Linked DNA regions of Homo sapiens: region 1 is linked to region 2. Evidence: promoter capture Hi-C in 16 types of primary human blood cells and fetal thymus (Javierre and others, 2016). All regions are on one chromosome and are shown on one strand. Each heading gives the region's core, a stretch centred on a gene start or on the middle of the fragment in contact. The rest is flanking DNA. Distances are from core to core; before and after follow the strand shown.

Region 1 (5,670 bases), core at 3,149-5,648, 1.2 Mb before region 2:
GGATAGTATTTTACACTGATTTTATTGATTGCTACAACTTTCAAATTCCTTAACTTGATTTCAAGACATTCCATAGTCTTGTCCTACCCTACGCATATCTACTTTTATCCAAATATCCTACATATTTTTTTCACTACTGCCTAATGGAGTCTTTCTGGCCATGTTGGCCTCATTACTGTTTCATAGACATAATAAGCATATGGTGCATAGGGTATACAGCCATAATCACTTAACTTGCAGCCAGAATGTTTTCATTTCAATTATGCAAACATGCATACAAAAGTTATGAACTAAGGATGTTACTGAGCTTCAGATCACTTTTCTAAAGAAAAGAAATTATAATACTTGCCTCCTTTATTGAGTTGTTGTAAAGACCAAAGTTAAACAAGAAAAAGCATAAGCAAATACATTATAAGTTGAAAATGCTATGTAACTGTAATTGTTATCAGTAAATATCCTCTTGTGTTTTTTTAAAACTTTGTGGACCCAATCCGTATATCAATGCCCAACTCAAGTTTTACATAATTCCTGGAGACTGCCCTTTCATATGGAGAGCTTCAGAAAACAACAGTGCTTTCCCCAACAATAAATTATGCGAGGAACTTAGGGGATAAATATTCCGGAGATGAGTTACTGTACAGCCTGGGTGGAGGACCCTCATGTGGTCTCTATCCTAGCAGCAACTGGTAACTCACTAGAAATGCAAATTCCTGGGCCCTATCACAGACCTACTGAATCAGACACTCAGGAGGAGGGAGCATGGAGTGAAGGCCAGTGATCTGTGTGTTAACACACCCTCAGGGTGATCCTGAAGCATAATAATCTTGAAAACCCCTGTTTTTGGGTATGAGCATTGAATATTTGTTCATCATTTCATCTTCTACAGTTTATACTGTGGCTAAACTATTTGAGGGTTTCAATAAAAGATTTTTTTTCTCTGCAATATCTGATGATCTCAGTCTTTGGGTCATAGTATGAATCATACAATTTACGGATGTCTTTACTCTCTTTTACTCTCCCCTAAAATTTTCTAGGACTAAAGATTATTGAATACAAATAAAGATAAATAAACAAATAAACCTTAACAAGATGAGGAAAACAATCCTCTAAATTCGTATATCTAGTCATTACCAGAATATTTCTGACTGTATTCACATATACTTTCACATTATATGTCCTTAAGTGTTTCTTTGTACAATTTATTTTTAGCCATATTACTGCAGCAGAATTGCAAAGCCTCAAAATTTGTATAAGCAGTAATAATTCTTATTTTTATATAATTATTTTTATAAGTTAAATGAAACACCTATCCTATATGTAGATTAAAAGATTAAATAATAGCCCTTACAATAATATTAATTATTTACTTACAGTTAGTGATTGATAATATTACTTGTATATATTCCAGACTTACAGAACATTTTTCCTGAGAGATGATCAAGCTTCCATGGGTTGTTTTCAGTCCTGGATTTATAATTCCAGAGGTATAGAAAATATTGTTGAATGTTATTATTTACTTCAGAATTTAACAGTAAATACACGTTTTAGAGAGTGAAGCGTAATTAAGTAAATTCCCTAGATGATGTCAAAAATATTAATAGTCCATGTATGTTTAATTATATGAATGCAAGTTCTGTTATTTGTGTGAGAAAATTAAAACAAATGTTACAAGCAGAAAATTGCTTATAGAGTGTCATCAATTAAGGCTGACATTTGTCTCTATCATAAGACTATAATTTATGTTTTTATACTTTATATTCAGTATTAACAATAAAACCTATTTGCATATGACTATAATTAAACTAGCATTTATCTTTAAATTTTTTATAAGCATTTAAAAGATGTTACATGTTTTTATCCACTTGTACCATTCAAGTAAATAACTATAGATTAGGCTTAGATCAGCTTGTTACCCAATAACAGAATTTGTTGGCTTTCATGTTTTATGGAAAACTGACTGCTGTTCAGACTATTGACACTAAACTGTAGGGAGTATTTTCACTGACTATACCCTGGTGTTAATATAATCTATAACTTTCAGTAAAAATATTAATGTTTTTAGAATTTTAGATACCAGGGTGTTTCAATCCATCATTTGTATTCCTTTTTATGAGATAAATGAATCCAAATTTCAGTGTACAATACCTGCTGTAAAATGTTTATATCAAATGTAAAATATAGACAGCAGTAAAATATGGGATGTGAAAGATTTAGTAATTTTTTTATTTCTTGTCAAACAGTAGGATAATATTTAGAGATAAGAGGCAAAATTTATCCTGAGTAAGGGAAAGTTATTCTGCCTTTTAAAATGTTCGTAAGCCTATCCAAGGTTTCAGTATTTTTGTGTGTTTTTTATTATTAGAGGAAAGTTAACAATTCCCTTTGATCTTAATGATGTTACATCATTGTAGCATGAAAGGAATAGTATAACCTCAACCAACTTTTTCTGTATTTAGTTTTCAGCAGTGCTGACAATTGTCTATGCCATGATAAAAAGAGAACGAAAATGTGTTGGAAGAGGCACCTGGGAGTGTAGTTGTCTCAGAGGGAACACCACATTTGTTCCTATGACACATTTTCATTGAAAGAAAAAAGAAAAAGAAGAAAGAAAAAGAAAGAAAGAGAGAAAGAAAGAAAGCAAGCAAGATAGCAATCAAGCAAGCAAGGAAGGAAGAAGAAAGCATCTTTTCTATTTCCCTTTCTTTTTATTTCTGTGTCTTTATTTCTCCTCTCTCTCTCTTCCACTTACTCCTCTCTTCCTCTCCCCTTCCTTCCCTCTCATCCTCGCCCCTTCTCTTCTTCTTTTTACCCCTACCCCCACCACCTTGTTTCTAGTCTTCCACAGTATTTTCTTACTAATACAAGGAGTGACTTAGTCCTGGTTAGAACAAATATCATAGAACGTCTTTACACTAAGCCTAGAGGTTTGCCTGTTGAAAGAAAACCACTAACTAAGTTTATCAAGGCATTGATCACCACCACCCCATTTACATGCTTTAATATTATATAGTATGCACCACATGACGTTAAAACATCAGGTTAAATTGCTTTTCTTTCAGAATAAACAGAGGCAAAAAGATGTAGTTATAATGTGTAGTAAAGTTTCTACATCTGCAGGATATACTCCTTTTTAAGACTTATTATTTTGATGATGGTGTACAATAAATCTCATTACTTGTGGGAGCCAAAAAGTTAACTGCTAATTCCATGGGTACCAAGGGGGCTGGACCCTATTACCAATTGTCTAGTACTAAGAATGACCTCATTATGTTATGATAAAAATTTTTAGCACATTCTAGACACTGAAAGACAGAGGTAAGTAAAGCCAGGTTAATCAAAATAGGGATCTTATAGCCTAGTAGAAGAGGTAACCCATAGAAAACAGATTTTTATACAGTACACTAAGTGATGATATAATGGTATGTTTAGGTTGCCATCGTAAATGAGGTAAATTCAACTCATATCAGAGATCCAGGAAAGGAGTTTAAAGGAAATACTTAATATGAGTCTTTAATAATAAATACAAAATTTTAAAATAAAGAATGGAAAAAAGTCATTTTCCTTCAGCACACTGTCAGAACATCACAAAGATGTGAAAATAAATATTTCATGTAGGAAATTCTGGCTTGTTCTGTTGCAGAAGCCTTACTCCTTAGCTTAGCGAGGTCTGAGTTCTTGTCTCACCACCACGATGAATGAGGTACATGGACATAGGAGGGTGAGTATGGCAGAATAGACTTTATTAAGTGACAGAAAGCGCTCAGTAAGGAGAGGGGACTCAAAAGTGGGTTGCCCTAGGGGATTAAAAACCTCATTTCTAGGGGTGTGTTTCTCATTTGCATCTTGCACAACCTTTTACTTCCTAGTTGCTTCCTGGTCCCAGTTCTTACTGCCCAGGTGCGTTCTTGTCCATAGTTATTCCATCTTAATTATTATGCATAAGCACCACAGAAAGGCCCAGTGGGTAGTAGGGGTGGTGGTGGTGAAACCACAATGCAGATGTCATGCTAATGATATTATAATGAGCTTGAGTCAAGTTAAGGACATTTAGTTGATTTATTACACCTGCGCCTAAGTTGGGACAGTCCCTTCTGAGCAAACATTCTGGTATAAGAGGAAGTTCTTAACCACATTTCCATCTGCTAGCTGCATAACAGGGGCAATGCAGGTGCATTCCTGCATGCATTGTCTCTCTCATGAAGCCCTACATCTCCATCGTACCACTTGCATACATAAAAAAGGTAAGTGAGATTAAAGATACACTTGGATAGAAGCAGGTCACAAGGGCTCTTGTGTTTTGTTAGAAATATCAGCATTATTATAATTTGAAATATGTTGTAATGAGCATTTATATGACACTTCTATATTTCCCCAAGAACCAGCTGCATATTTTTAAATATTGTATGTTTAAGATTTTCAAGAGGCTTGTAAATTTTTTGAGTTTCATAATCTTTAACAATGCAAACCAAAATACTTAATCAGTTCTTACTTAGTCATTTATGAAGTTACCCATGGGAAAATTATGTTTACTGATATTTTAACCCTGTTTCTATCACTTACTTATTCATCCAACTTCCAAAACCAGTGTTCTTTGGCCCTTCTCCTCAGTTTGTTTTGTTAATAAAAGTTATAAATTTAAAAAATAATAATAATAGAAAAATACATCTGTAACAAGCCATTATTTTATGCTATTTCTCTTCTTCCCAAATTTGGACTAAAAAGGATTTAAATATAAATGTTTGTTTTAAGTTTTTTATTTTATTTTAGTTCAGGTATTGGTTTTTACTGGAGAGGTTAGAGAAAGTGATTTCAAAGGGCAAAATCAACTCAAAATTGTAAAAGGAGAAAATGGAAAAAAAAAAGCGATGATATTCATGACTGATTATCTCCTTCAAGAAAGGAGGGAGGAAATGAAATGTGCTCAGTCTTCTCTTGTAATCTCTTTTCCCAAAGTTACCTCTTGACATTTTTGGATGTTCTGTCACAAGAAAGTTGATCTTTCCATTTCTTTGGTTACTTAGCTTTTAATCTATCTGTTTGCATACATGCTAGAGAGCGATGAGTGATTTGTCGTCTACATAGAAGTGGAAATTTATAGTCTGAAAGAAAATAATAGTTTTCTTTTCTTTTATCTGTTTTATTATTTTCATTATTTGAAATTCTAGTAAGTAATATTCTTCCTTCAAAGTAGCTGTCACTTACAGCTTTCTTAACCTGAGTCTCAGAAAGAATTCAACAAAGCTGTATCTTTCTGTCTTTAAAATATTATTTCTTCCTGTTTCTATCAGTCACTTATGTCATAATAAATATTAAAACTGACAGGCAATATATTTTAAGTGCTACTGTAAAAGCATTGTTTTGCTATAAATAAACAAGCTCATTTCTCTAGGACTTAAATAGGAATACAGATTTGATACATTCTCTTCCCCTATTAAACATCTGTGGCAAGATGCCATTAGGGAGTTGTTAGATTTGCTGGAATTTTCCACTATGCCAGATATTAAATTACCTGTCATATGTGTTCTGAAGTATACAGAAGGTTGTAATCGTATAAGGATGCTGAATGTGCTGACATTTTCATTGCCCTGAATATAAGTAAACATAATTATTGGCTCTTCCTATAGGGTTTTAATTGATATGTTGACCAGTAGCCATGAGTGGGTTTGTGAA
Region 2 (6,016 bases), core at 1,371-3,870:
ATAAAGCTGCCAGTTCTACTCCCATGATCACCCATTAATCCATTCATTCATGTTCCAGCTCTCATGCCCAATCATCTCTCAAAGGCCCCACCTGTCAGCACTGCCACATTGGACAGTTTCAACATAAGTGTCAGAGGGGACAAACATTCATTCCAAAGCCTGATACACTGTATAATAACTATCACAATCAAGCTAATTAACATAGCCACCACCTTTCATATTTACCATTTTTTTCTATTCCCTTTATTTTCTTCTCTCTTTTTCTTTCTTTCTTTTTTTTTCCAGACAGTCTTACTCTGTCGCTCAAGTTGGAGTGCAGTGACGCAATCTCAACTCACTGCAACCTCTGCCTCCCAGGTTCAAGCGATTCTCCTGCCTCAGCCTCCCGAGTAGCTGGGATTACAGGCGCGTGCTACCATGCTCGGCTAATTTTTGTATTTTCAGTTGAGATGGGGTTTCATCATATTGGCCAGGCTGGTCTTGAACTCCTGACCTCAGTTGATCCACCCATCTCAGCTTCCCAAAGTGCTGGGATTACAGGCGTGAGCCACCGCACCTGGCCCCATTTTCTTTCTTGTGTGCAAGTGTGAGAACACAAGATCTACCCTCTTAGCAAATTTCAAGCATACATTGCGATTTTCCTAACTATAGTCACATTGCTGTACTTTAGCTCTCTAGAACTTACCTATCTCGCATAATTGAAACTCTGTACCCTTTGACCAACATCTCCCCATTTCCACCTTCTCCCAGGCCCTGGCAACCACCGTTCTACTGTCTGCTGACATATTTCTTAACTTGCTATTGCAGTCATCACAACTATGACCAAAAATAATAATCACTTCTGTAGCTACCCCACGAAGCACAAAGAAGTTGAAAATTATCAATATATTTATTAATATATTATGCTGAATTCAGGCATAACACTTTCTTCTGAAGTACTTTACATTCTGAAATCCTTAAAAAAATCTGTCCAGTGAATTCTGTGCTTGATAATAGTCCATCTATGCTGTATTAAAATTAAATTGTAACATGATCGGTTCACCTCATAATGATCTTTATTTCATAAAACAATTTGAGATGAGGTAAAATTTGACTTCAAAACTAACATAACACCATAAATTTCCAAAATAGTTTTATAAAAAAATTAAAAAGCCCACAACACTATAGATAGATAACATACCTTAATTTTTATTTTATTTTATTTATTTATTTTTTTATGAGACGGAGTTTTGCTCTTGTTGCCCAGGCTGGAGTGCAATCGTGTGATCTTGGCTCACTGCAAACTCTGCCTCATGGATTCAAGCGATTCTCCTGCCTCAGCCTCCCGAGTAGCTGGGATTACGGGCATGCGCCACCACGCCCGGCTAATTTTGTATTTTTAGTAGAGACGGCGTTTCACCAATATTGGAGGGGCTGGTCTTGAACCCCCAACCTCAGGTGACCCGCCCGCCTCGGCTTCCTAAAGTGCTGGGATTACAGGACTGGCCACTGCGGGAGCTGCGGCAGCTGCGGCCTCTGGGTACGGGGTCAGCGGGCAGTCCTGTAATGGCCACATTACAGGACAGGCCATCGCGCCTGGCCACATGCCTTAATTTTCAAAGTCAAATTTGTCTTTAAAAAGAATGAATTCCTACCCTTTGGGGGTATTTATTTTTGCAACTAACTTCCATCCTTTTATTAAGTAATCAAACATAGCCCATTTGAATGTTGGAAAAGAACTGTCAGAAATACAAGTTCTTATTTTGTACTTTGGTAACATGAATTTTACACTTAGTTGAACATGAAGAATCAAAAAAGCTCTGGATTGTTGTAATAATTGTTTAGAATTTTAGATGTACCATTTGACCTTTGACTTTAAGATGAATTTCAGTGTCCTCAGTAAATAAAGGCTTACCCCCAACCTTAAATAGTGACGCACAAAGGCTATTATTACCACCACTGAGTGGCTTAAATAATCCTGTCAACAGCAATCGCCCATTTCCAAAGCCATGGTGAAACATCTCTGTGCTAATTTCTTTTGTTTTGTTTCCTAATTTTTTTTTTTTGGCAGGTGGTGGGAAATAATCTTTGTCTTCTTTGGAGTAAACCTTCAACACCGGATTTTTTCTTTTAATTATGGATGTAAACCCCAATATCCCCATAATTTACATTGGGTCTCGACCAATTGCCTAATTATAAGAGGATATATTTAGGCTCTTATTTCATCCACACAAAAACTTGTGTAACAGGTAGTTGGAAACATCTGAGGCACCACTTTGATTCTGTTTTGGATGGTCATGTTTTTTCTCCTCCGTTTCCCCAGCATGTCTGCCACCATCCTCATGCACTGCTTCCAAGTGCCTGGGAGCCTTTATGAGCGTCCCTAAACCTAAAAGAATCCAGAGGCGGGGCTCGGATGAACCCTCGAGATAAGCAAGTGAGCCGCTTCTCCCCTCTAAAGGATGTTTACACGTGGGTGGCACTCGCTGGAATCCAGCGCTCGGGCAGCCCTGGGAGGACGCGCTCAGCTGCGAGGAGGTGACCGGCGGCGGCGCGGGCAGTCCGGAGGGGCGGGACGGGGCGGGGCAAGGCGGGGGCCGGGCCGGAGGAGGCGGGCTCCCGGGATCCGCGGTGTCCGGCAGTAGAGCTCGCTGCAGATCCGGGCTCTGACCATGATTTGGCGCCGCGCGGCGCTGGCGGGGACGCGGCTGGTTTGGAGCAGGAGCGGCTCGGCAGGCTGGCTTGACAGGGCGGCGGGAGCTGCGGGAGCTGCGGCAGCTGCGGCCTCTGGGTACGGGGTCAGCGGGCAGGAGTGCCGCGGCGTGGTGCGCAGGCCTTGCGGGGGTCTGGAGAAAGCGGTGGGCGGAGGTGCCCCTTTGCCCCGGCGCCGGGTGGGCGAGGCGTACTAGCGCGTGGGCTCTGAGTCATAACACGCAGAGGCGCTCGAGGGATGGGCAGGGAAGGGTGCCCTCCGCGGCTGTGCTGACTTCAGGAGCCTGTGACTCTCGCGTTGAAAATACTTCACTCATGTTCACTTAGGCCATCCCTCTGTGAATTGCTACATAAAATACAAGACGCCGCAATCAATTGGAATTTCTCTGAAAGAGCGAATGATTCTTAGTCCAAGTGTGTCCCAAATACTGCAGTGGACATAGGAAAAACGGAACAGTTTTCTGGTGTTTGGTTACAATTCTAATTTGACCGGGCGTCCTGCATTCTTGTTTGCTAAACTTAGCCACCCTACTGCAGGAAGTGAAGGCGATGATTCCCGCTGAATGGCCAGAGCTTTTAGGATAGAGGCTGACTGATGGTGATGCCGCCTGCGGCTAGACCGAGGATAGTGCTTTCCTTACACTTCCTCGTTTGGAATATCAGCGGCTTCGGGACCTGCAGTGGAAGGGAACTGCGGCTGTGCTGCCCACGCCCGCGCGGCTGGTGCCTGGCGGTCCTGCCGGCTCGCACTTCCGCGCCTGCCACTGCGCACTTGGCCGGAGAGTCTGTCTCGCTATCTACTTGATCTGGGAGCTTCTATCAGTTTTGCAAGATTCTAGGAATCTCAAGTTTAACTTTCCAGACCAAGCTAGAGACCCCTCCTGAAGGGCTAATCACAGGCTGTTAAGTGTTTGACAGCTCTTTGAGGCCCCGCCGTGTTTTTTTCTGCGTATCCCTGGGGTCAATATAGCACTTTGCCTACTTAGCACACAGTAGGCGCTCCATAAATGTGGCATGACTAGGTGCTTCATCTGTGTTGAAATGAAATGTTTATTGTGCACTTACTTCCTCCGTGCATGTTTCTATTCATAGTTCGCGACAGTTTTTACCAAGGTCAACTAGAAATTGAAGGGAAAGGGTGTCTTCCAGAAACTTTTATTTGGGTAATATTTCAGAATGCACCTCCTACCTCCTCTCACTACCCAAGAAAACATTCTCTTGTGTTCTATTGGAGCTCCTTCAGTAGTAAATGCTGTAGTAGATGGTTTGGGTATGACAGTTTAAGTGCTGGACCTGAGATGAAAGGACTTGCTTTCTTAGTTGATAAACCAAATACAGCTTGCTGATTTATTCCACCAATGCTCTTCCTTAGGGCTAGGCCAGTGCTGCCTAACCTTTTCTGGTTTAGGCTTCAGGAACTCAACTTTCTTTTATCTTAAAGCTTCACCCTCCTCTCAGGTTGGCTGCAGTCTCCCTAGCTCGCTACCCTTAACTCCTTCCTGAGTTAAGCGCACAGGACTTTTTTTTTTGTTTTAAAGTGTTCCTTGCTAATACTATTAGGAAGCAAGGAATAATAGATTGTAAACATTGGGTAGGTTATAATGTTATAATGTTTAATTCCTGTCTCTTACTCTTCTTTGTTATAACTGAACAAACTGATGTTTGCTGTAGCTTCCTCACTCTAGGTGAGCTGATATCATAATCGTTCCCCCTTATCCGTGGTGGACACGTTCCAAGACCCTCGGTGGATGCCTAAAACCTCGGATAGTACTGAACCCTATACATGCTATTTTCCTATACATACTTGCCTATGATAAAGTTTAATTTATAAATTAGGCAGAGTAAGAGATTAACAACAATAATAAAAGAACAATCACTTTAATAACAAAATGCTCATTTCAAGGAATCCCTTGCTGAATCTTCTCATAGGCCCAGTGCTTTTTGGCATAACACATTGCTGTCAGTTGGAACACTTTTTCTGTTCTTGTCTCCACAAATTTAATACCTTTTCTGGCTTAACTAAGCACTTATACCTTGTGGCTGTAACTTGCAGTTTGAGGTGTGACATCAAAACTGCCATGAATTTTTTACTTCTTTACAACTGCACTGATAGAAGATCCGTTCTTACCATAGACCTTAGCAACCTCAGCGTGTGATTTTTTTTTTCCTATTAGGTGGAGAACTTTCACCGTTTCACTTAAAGGAAGCACTTTAGGGCTTCTCTTTGACGTACCTGAATTGCCAGCATCACTACTCTAGTGGTTTGGAGCCATTATTATTATTATTATTTAAGACGGAGTTTCACTCTTGTTGGAGCCATTATTAAGTAAAATAAGGGTTACTTGAACACAAGCATCACCACACTGTGACAGTCGATCTGGTCACCAAGACAGCTGTTGACTAAAGCGTGGGGAGCTTATACAGAGTCCATATGCTGGACAAAGGGAGGATTCATACCCTGGGTAGGAGGAAGCTAGATGGCTCAAGATTTCATCATGCTACTTAAAACTTACGAACTATTTTCTTCTGAAATTTTCCATGTAATGTTTTTGGACCACAGCTGACCTTGGATAACTGAAACCGTGGATAAAGGGGGACTACTGTGTAGGGCAGATGTTCATTATCCAAGGATAAGATGTACTGGAAAAAGCTATTAGAGTGGATTCACTTAAAATAAGACTAGTATTTCAGGCCAGGCGCGGTGGCTTACACCTGTAATCCCAGCACTTTGGGAGGCCGAGGTAGGTTGATCATATGAGGTCAGGAGTTCGAGACCAGCATGGTCAACATGGTGAAACCCCATCTCTACTAAAAATACAAAAAATTAGCCAGGTGTGGTGGTACATACCTGTAGTGTCAGTGACTCGGGAGTCTGAGGCAGGAGAATTGTTTGAACCTGGGAAGCGGAGATTGCAGTGAGCCAAGATCACGCCACTGCACTCCAGGCTCGGTGACAGAGCAAGACTCCATCTCAAAAAGAAGACTAATATTTCATGCTATCCAGTTTAAAAAATTCTGCTTGGGACTATTGCAAAAATTAAACAAAACATAAAAAGTAGCTTTATGTTTACATTTAAGAACATTTAAATTTTAAATGCACCCCCAATGAATGAATACAGTATTGATTTGAAGGCAGAATATTTGAGTTTTATAACATAATCACAAGGATAATAGTTTTTTAAATATTTGAAGTTTCAAAAATTCTCTTATTCTTTAGATATTCGAGTAATTCTCTTTTGAAACATCTATTATATGTCATAATCCTCTTGTAAGATTTGTAATTTTACTCTGCAGTTAGTTTGCATCATGGTGTTTGATATTGTTC

What was found. The method cuts DNA at HindIII sites, captures the fragments that hold promoters and counts their contacts. A CHiCAGO score of 5 or more calls a contact.
Region 1: a contact is called between a fragment that was not itself captured here and the fragment with the promoter of GLRX2 in region 2, in 6 of 17 cell types (activated CD4 T cells, total CD4 T cells, naive CD8 T cells and 3 more). The highest score is 11.0, in activated CD4 T cells.

Annotation. Positions count from the first base shown.
Region 1 is chr1:194,288,167-194,293,836 of GRCh38, reverse strand. All of the region lies in intron 2 of LOC107985242 (a long non-coding RNA gene), which reads left to right. It overlaps LOC105371670 (a long non-coding RNA gene), which reads left to right. Exons shown (of 3, transcript XR_922390.2): 2 at 1,409-1,484; 3 at 2,457-2,598. Among named protein-coding and RNA genes, the nearest start is that of LINC01031, 990 kb to the right of the region's middle. RefSeq lists a silencer at 4,071-4,271. The HindIII fragment of the contact is 5,907 bases long and covers 1,445-5,670 here.
Region 2 is chr1:193,102,018-193,108,033 of GRCh38, reverse strand. It overlaps GLRX2 (glutaredoxin 2), which reads left to right and starts at 2,620. Exons shown (of 4, transcript NM_197962.3): 1 at 2,620-2,770. The coding sequence starts at 2,652. RefSeq lists silencers at 2,442-2,681, 2,461-2,755, 2,732-2,831. The HindIII fragment of the contact is 5,966 bases long and covers 1-4,134 here.